Regions from separate parts of the Homo sapiens genome. Here region 1 is linked to region 2. Evidence: promoter capture Hi-C in human tissues and cell types (Jung and others, 2019). All regions are on one chromosome and are shown on one strand. Each heading gives the region's core, a stretch centred on a gene start or on the middle of the fragment in contact. The rest is flanking DNA. Distances are from core to core; before and after follow the strand shown.

What was found. Contacts are between HindIII fragments. The study calls those that stand out against the background at their distance.
Region 1: a contact is called between a fragment that was not itself captured here and the fragment with the promoter of GNG10 in region 2, in 2 of the 25 tissues and cell types used here (heart left ventricle and pancreas).

Annotation. Positions count from the first base shown.
Region 1 is chr9:111,577,696-111,581,447 of GRCh38, reverse strand. It overlaps PTGR1 (prostaglandin reductase 1), which reads left to right. Exons shown (of 10, transcript NM_001146108.2): 7 at 2,497-2,652. It also overlaps a transcript of ZNF483 not described here. Among named protein-coding and RNA genes, the nearest start is that of PTGR1, 20 kb to the left of the region's middle. The HindIII fragment of the contact is 3,979 bases long and covers 1-3,752 here.
Region 2 is chr9:111,660,086-111,663,550 of GRCh38, reverse strand. It overlaps GNG10 (G protein subunit gamma 10), which reads right to left and starts at 1,946. Exons shown (of 3, transcript NM_001017998.4): 1 at 1,836-1,946. The coding sequence starts at 1,916. All of the region lies in intron 1 of DNAJC25-GNG10 (DNAJC25-GNG10 readthrough), which reads right to left. RefSeq lists enhancers at 886-935, 1,136-1,235, 2,306-2,365 and silencers at 1,526-1,645, 1,676-2,125. The HindIII fragment of the contact is 18,619 bases long and covers 1-3,465 here.

The DNA.
Region 1 (3,752 bases), core at 716-3,215, 82 kb after region 2:
TGTCTATATCTGTCTTTGTTTAATCCTGCCTGCAACTTAGTTAGCCATTATAATCTGAAGACCAACGTTTTTCTTCAGATGAAGAACAGTTTTCTTCTTCTATTTAATTATTTTTTTCATCTATTCTGTTTTCTTCATGAGGAATGGTATATGTTCATTCTGTTTCCCTTAGGACTATTCTTGTATGCTCTCTTTGCTCTCATAATTACATCTTTTGTACTTTTTCCTCTGAATTCTGTACTTTCTTAATCTGGTCCTCCAATTGAATTACATGACTTGCAGCAGCATCAGTTTCTAGATTAGCAATTAAGTTTTTCATAGCTGAGGCTCCTCATATTCTAGGATTGCTTCCTTTCCCCATAACCTGCACTTGTTGACTAATGCAGTATCCTTTTGAATTTCACTGAGAAACTTGAAACAGTATGAACACATCTTTTAAAATATCTTCTCTTCCCTGTAGAAATTCCACTGGAGACTGCCATGCTAAGGAATTTATACTCAATCCTTAAAGAAGTAACATGATTGGTTCTGCTTTTTAGAAACATCACTTAGGCCTTGGTAGGAGAATAGTTCCTAGGGACGCTATGCTAGAAACAAGAAGTCCACTTAGGAGGCTCTTACAATAATTCAAATGAAAATTTTGATGCATCGACAAAGATTGGAAGTCAGAGTCAGCTTTTTTTTTTTTTTTTGAGATGGAGTTTCGCTCTTGTTGTCCAGGCTGGAGTGCAATGGTGCGATCTCAGCTCACCGCAACCTCTGCCTCCCAGGTTCAAGCTATTCTCCTGCCTCAGCTTCCCGAGTAGCTAGGATTACAGGCATGTGCCACCACGCCTGGCTAATTTTGTATTTTTAGTAGAGATGGGGTTTCTCCGTGTTGGTCAGGCTGGTCTCGAACTCCCGACCTCCGGTGATCCACCCACCTCAGCCCCCCAAAGTGCTGGGATTACAGGCGTGAGCCACCGCGCCTGGCCCAGAGTCGGATTTTAAGGCTGTTTGGTTAAAAAAGAGGAAGAAAACCAGATGATTGGACATGGATCATAAGACAAAGGAAAGCTTCTCCTTTGAGCCATGTTTCAGGTTTGGATAACTGAGTGGTATCATTCTCTTATAATAGTGGATAGAAAAGAAATAAGTAAGAAGCAAGGAAAAAAGTATATTCCCTTTTGAACACACTATTTATGAGGGACCTACAGGACATCCAAGTGTGAGGACATCTATAGGTTGTTGGAAATACTGATTTGGAACTCAGGAGAAAAAAAATGGGCTAACATTAATAGATAGAATTAATAGATTAATTAATAATCTGCATAAAGGAGGTCATAAGAGTGAAAGAGATCATCCTATGATAGTCTATAGTCTTAGAAGGAAAAAGGACCAAGGAGGGCTCTCTTGCAATAGTTTTTTCTGGAATCATGAAGGAATGGAAAAAGCCTGTGGCCGTCACTATTTGTACAGAGATTCATGTAAATCCAACTGGGGTTTTTCCTCGATTGAAAATGCACAGTGGCACATATTCTGGTCTTCATAATACATTTAGAGTATAAGGGAGCTTTCTGAAAAGCTAGTTTCTATGAACCACTATAATCTGTAGTGTCATCCTGAAAGTGCTTTTCAGAATGCTTCCTAGCTCCTCTGTGATTAGGAAGCGTGTAGTCTGGTGCTTTGGACTAAATCAAAGGATAAAGGGGGCCTGGTGCAGTGGCTCATGCCTGTAATCCGAGCACTTTAGAAGGCTGAGGCAGGAGGATCACTTGAGCCCAGGAGTTCAAGATCAGCCTGGGCACTTTAGGAGGCCAAGGCAGAAGGATCACTTGAGCCTAGGAGTTCGAGATCAGCCTGGGCAATATAGTGAGACCCTGTCTCTGTGAAAATTTAAAAAATATAAGGCCAGATGTAGTGGTATGCACCTGTGGTCCCAGCTACTTAGGAGGCTGAGGTGGGAGGATCACGAGCTTAAGAGGTCAAGGTTGCAGTGAGCCATGTTCGTGCTACTGCACTCCAGCCTGGGCAACAGAGTGAGACCATGTCTCAAAAAAATATAAACATTTAAAAAATCAAAAAAGGATAAGGGGGCAGTTACTAGGAGGGCTGTCTGTGATGTGGGAGTCACAGAGCTGAGACAAAATAATAGTCTGAAGAATGACTGTACCAAGAGATGGCATACACTGCATTGCAAGGAAGAGAAGCCCAGAAACAAAGAACCAAGGAAGTCAAATGGATCGGTTGTGAAACCAGCTGGTGGAACTATGAACCAAATAAATGCAGAAGGGACCTGCTGGGTGGTCAGAAGCAAGCTGAAGCTGAGTTGTAGGATGGTCCGGGGACTGATTTCACCTATGGGATCTGTTGGCCCATTATGGTATTCCTTTTATATGTGGCTCAGCACCTAAGAGAGTGTTCCTAGGGAACCTAGGCATACGAGACCAGGAAAGTAGTGTTGGTCCATGCTTGTGACTTATTCATGGTTTCCTTTTTTTTTTTTTTTCTACTTAGGGCTGCAAAGTTGTTGGAGCAGTAGGGTCTGATGAAAAGGTTGCCTACCTTCAAAAGCTTGGATTTGATGTCGTCTTTAACTACAAGACGGTAGAGTCTTTGGAAGAAACCTTGAAGAAAGCGTCTCCTGATGGTTATGATTGTTATTTTGATAATGTAAGTACAAACTGGACTTAATATCTAATTTATTATGGAAGTACTATATAAAGCAGGAGTCTCCTACCCCTGGGCCATGGATGGTTAGTGGTCCATAGCCTATCAGGAACTGGGATGCACAGCAGGAGGTGAGGGGCAGGTGAGCAAGCAAAGCTTCATCTGTATTTACAGCCCTTCCCCATTGCTCCCATTACTGCCTGAGCTCCGCCTCTTCTCAGAACAGTGGCAGCATTAGATTCCCATAGAAGTGTAAACCCTGTTGTGAACTATGCATGTGAGGGATCTAGGTTGTGCGTTCCTTATGGAGATCGCACTACTCAGGTGCCTGATGATGCCTGATGCCTAATGATCTGTCACTGTCTCCCATCACCCCCAGATGGGACCGTCTAGTTGCAGGAAAACTCACCCACTGATTCTATGGTTATGGTGAGTTGTATAATTATTTCATTGTATATTACATTGCAATAATAATAGAAATAAAGTGCACAATAAACACAATGTACTTGAATCATCCTTGAAACCATCCCCCCAACAATCGATGGAAAAATTGTCTTCCAATGAAACTGCTCCCTGGTGCCAAAAAGGTTGAGGACCGCTGATACAAGGGAATATATTCCTAGAGTTTCCATTTTGGGGTACATGAAGAAAGTATATATGCCTTTTTTAAAAAACAGCTTTATTGAGATATCATTCATGTACCATGTAATTCACTCATTTAACGTGTAGAAGTCAATGTTTTTTACTATATTGGCAAAATTGTACAACCAGTTTAAGAATATTTTCATCACCCCCCCCAAAAAACGCTACTCATTAGCAGTCACTCTCCATTACCACCCTCCTCCCCACTAAAAGTGGTCTCTTATGACTGGCATCTTTCACTTAGCAAAATGTTTTCAAGTTTCATCCATATCATAGAATTTATCAGTGCTTTATTCCTTTTTTTTGTTTTTTGAGACAGGATCTCACTCTGTCACCTAGGCTGGAGTGCAGTGGTGTGATCGTGGCTCACTGCAGCCTCGACCTCCCTCGCTCAAGCAATCCTTCCACCTCAGCCTCCCAAGTAGCTGGGACTATAGGGATGTGCCACCACACGCAACTAA
Region 2 (3,465 bases), core at 697-3,196:
TTTATTCTTCCTTTATTCTGCTCTGACCTCACCGAGATCACCAGGCATCACCTCCTCCCCTTCTGTCTCACCTATCACCAGGAGGCTGGCTGCATTCCTTCTCTATCCATCTAGGCTCAGCCTCTTTCTGGCCAGACCTTCACACGCCTTGCCCTCCGGCCCCACCTCCACCTTTCTGGCATACCTCCCCTGCTAACTTACTCCTCTTTCAACTACCGTTCACCTTCAGCACTCACATTCCAGGATGGTAAAGATTGCTGCAGGAAAAAAAAAAAATCACAAATATGACCAGCAGTCTCCCTTGTCACAGCAGCTGGGTCTTCAGTCACAGCGCATCTGCGTGCCTGCTCAGGGGCCACTCCCTTAGTCCCCTTTCCTCTGCCTTAGAAGAAAACCTGGCCTCCTATTTCACAAAGAAAAGTGTCACCATACAAGTTTAGCCCATATCTAGAAACTTATCTTTACACACACCCTTACCTTCTTTCTTCCTGTCTCAGAAGCTGTGCCACCAATCCCCCACCCCCCCGTAGCCCTGTCTCCTCTACCAGCAATTGGCTTCCATTTGTTTCTTCCCTGGAACCTAAAAATATAATTTGTTACTTCCTCTCAACCCTAAAACATGGCTTTTCATTTCCTAAGTTAAAAAAACACGTTATTTCCTCTTTAAAACTAGGTTTCTTTAAAAAGAAAAAACGTCTGCCTACCCTATGACAGTCCAGATTCTGCTTTTACTAACACATAAGCCACCAGACCTCTGCATTCCACAGCCCTCTCTCCCTTTACCCTGTTTATTATCTTCACTCCACTTAGTACATGAAGCGATGCTATGTATCCGTTAAGTTGCTGTTTACCTTCCCCTCCAGAACCACCCTATTCCCTGTAGCAGTGCCAGGCACACAGCAAAGGAGAAACTGAGGCACAGGGACTATCCTGGTTGTGTTCCTTCTTACAGATCTTCTGCAAATAATGCTGCACTCGTAGCTAAACACAGCTCTACAACAGACGCCTTTTAGCCAACTGACTAAACGCTGGACATGTTGACTGAGCCCCCAGTTTTTGGAAATCCCTACTTCCTTGCTCGGAAACCTTGCTGTCTCTTATTTCCTCTTCTCTAGGCCTTGCTCGGAAACCTTGCTGTCTCTTATTTCCTCTTCTCTCGGCCACCGGCCATCGGTGTGGCTGGTCCCCGGGTCCCAGGCTCTGAGCTCTGCTCTTCATAGAAGAGGCTTTTTCGCCCCAATGCACTTGAATGACCTCTTTCAGCCCTGGGCGCTGAGCTTCAGGCCATGAGGACAAATACCTCCCGGATGACTCCCCGGAGTCCCCAGGTCCGCAGCCGAACTCATCATTTCCCCAAACCTGTTCCCCCTCCTCTCTACCTCGGCGGGTGGCAGCGCCGTCCACCCTGTCACGACGACAGAAACCCGAGCATCCTGGCTCTCCTCCCTCTCGCTCTCATCCTACCAATCCATCACCAATTCGCCGCCCTGCGGTGGCCTCCCCAGCCCTGGGTCCACCCTCCCGGCCCGCGCGTCGCCGGCATCCCTTGCGCCCTCCGAGGAACTGACCACGGCCGCCTTCTGGAGTGGGCGCACCCCCAGGGACCGGGACCGACCACGACCGCGGGGCCCCCCAGGCGCGGCTTCCTCCCGTCAGGCCCGGGCCCCCGGCTTGCCCCGCGCCCTCCCTCACCGCGGACCCCACCGCCCCCGCGCCCCGCCGAGGCCTCGCCGCCGCCACCGAGTCCCCCGCTGGCGCCCGGTCCGGGCCGCCGGCCTCCTCTTCTCACGCCCCGCGGGCGGAAGGACCGGAGCGTGGGTACCCGGGGCCCGCACCTTGATCCTCTCCACGCCAGCCTCCAACTTGAGCTGCTCTACCAAGCGCTGCAGGGCGCTCGCGCTAGCCCCGGAGGACATGGCGGCGGCGCTGGGCTCCTAGGGGCTGCTGGGCCCGGCCGGGCGGGGAGGAGCCGCCAGCCCCGAGCGCGGGTGCCGCCCCGGGGCGGGGAAGCAGCTGCGCCCGCCCCGCCGCCCCAGCCCACCCGGCGCGGAGCCGCTTGCCAGAGACAGCGGGGACCCCAGCGAGCTGGCAGTGCTCTCCGCTCCTCAGCGCCTGAAACCTGGGTGGCACCTGCAGCTGGGCCTGGAACCGAGGCGGGGACCCGCAGAGCGCGGCGTCCTCCAGCGAAGCTGGCGCCCCTAGGATGAGCAGGAATCGCGAGGGCGTGGGACGCGAGGATGGAGTGGGCGGCAGCAAACACGCACCCCTGAGAAATGAGAACTGGAGCCAAGGTGTGACATGAGTTGGAGAGATAAGGGGCCTTGCCAGACAGTATCACCGGGGAACCAAGGAGAGTTCATAGGATTTTCATGAGGCAGCAACAGGTTTCTAAATGACCCTGTTACTGTTTCACGGAGATCCTACCAGTTGATTTGGTGGAGTATGGTAAATTGGATAAAATCCCAGACCCTGACATCTTTGTGAAACATACAGAATAAAATTAAATTCAGCGTTTCTCACTCTCATCTCACCATTTAACTGTCATCATTGTTTCTATTCTGCTGCTTTTTTTTTTTTTTTTTTTTTTTTTGAGACAGGGTCTTGCTCTGTCACCCGGGGTGGAGTGCAGTGGCGTGATCACAGCTCCTTGTAGCCTCCACCTCGTGGGCTCAGGTGATCCTCCTGCCTCAGCCTCCTGAGTAGCTGGGACTACAGACACACACCACCACGCCCGGCTAATTTTTGTATTTTTAGTAGAGACGGGGTTTCACGATGTTGGCCAGGCTGGTGTTGAACTCCTGGGCTCAGGTGATCCTCCCACCTCAGCCTCCCAAAGTGCTGGCATTATAGGCCTACTGCATTTTTTAATAAGTGTTTTACAAAACTGGGATCGTTACTATATTTAAAATTTTTGTGTTGCTTTTTTCCATGTATCATTAATACGTCATTATTCTTGTACACCATTGTATTTGTCAGAACTCACTTAAACTGAATATTGCAAAAGGTAATATATTGGCTTGTGTAACTGAAAAGTCCAGGGACTTTAAACTAGTGAATTCAATTACCCAAATAATAATTTTGGGGCTCTCATCCTCCTTGTTTTGATTCTGCTTTTCCTGAGATTAGCCTCATTTTCCTTGGTGGTAGATGGACTTCTCTAGTGGTATGAAGGAAGGCACCACACTTTCACTGTCCCCATCTAGCAAACCCAGGAAAAATAGTACCTCTTTTCTTTCTAATCGTTCCAGCAAAAATCCCCATAATGAACCTCACTGGCTGGTATTAAGTCATGGGCCCACCCCTGGCCCAATTACTCTTTGAAGGCAAGGATGTGTGGCATTGACGTGCTCAGATTAGCTGTGCCTGGGCCAAAGGGAGACTTGCACATTTGAAAGCCCTCTCTAGTGGCCAATTTCCTCACCACAAAGAAATTAATATATATCTTAGTAAAGAGATGAAAGTACA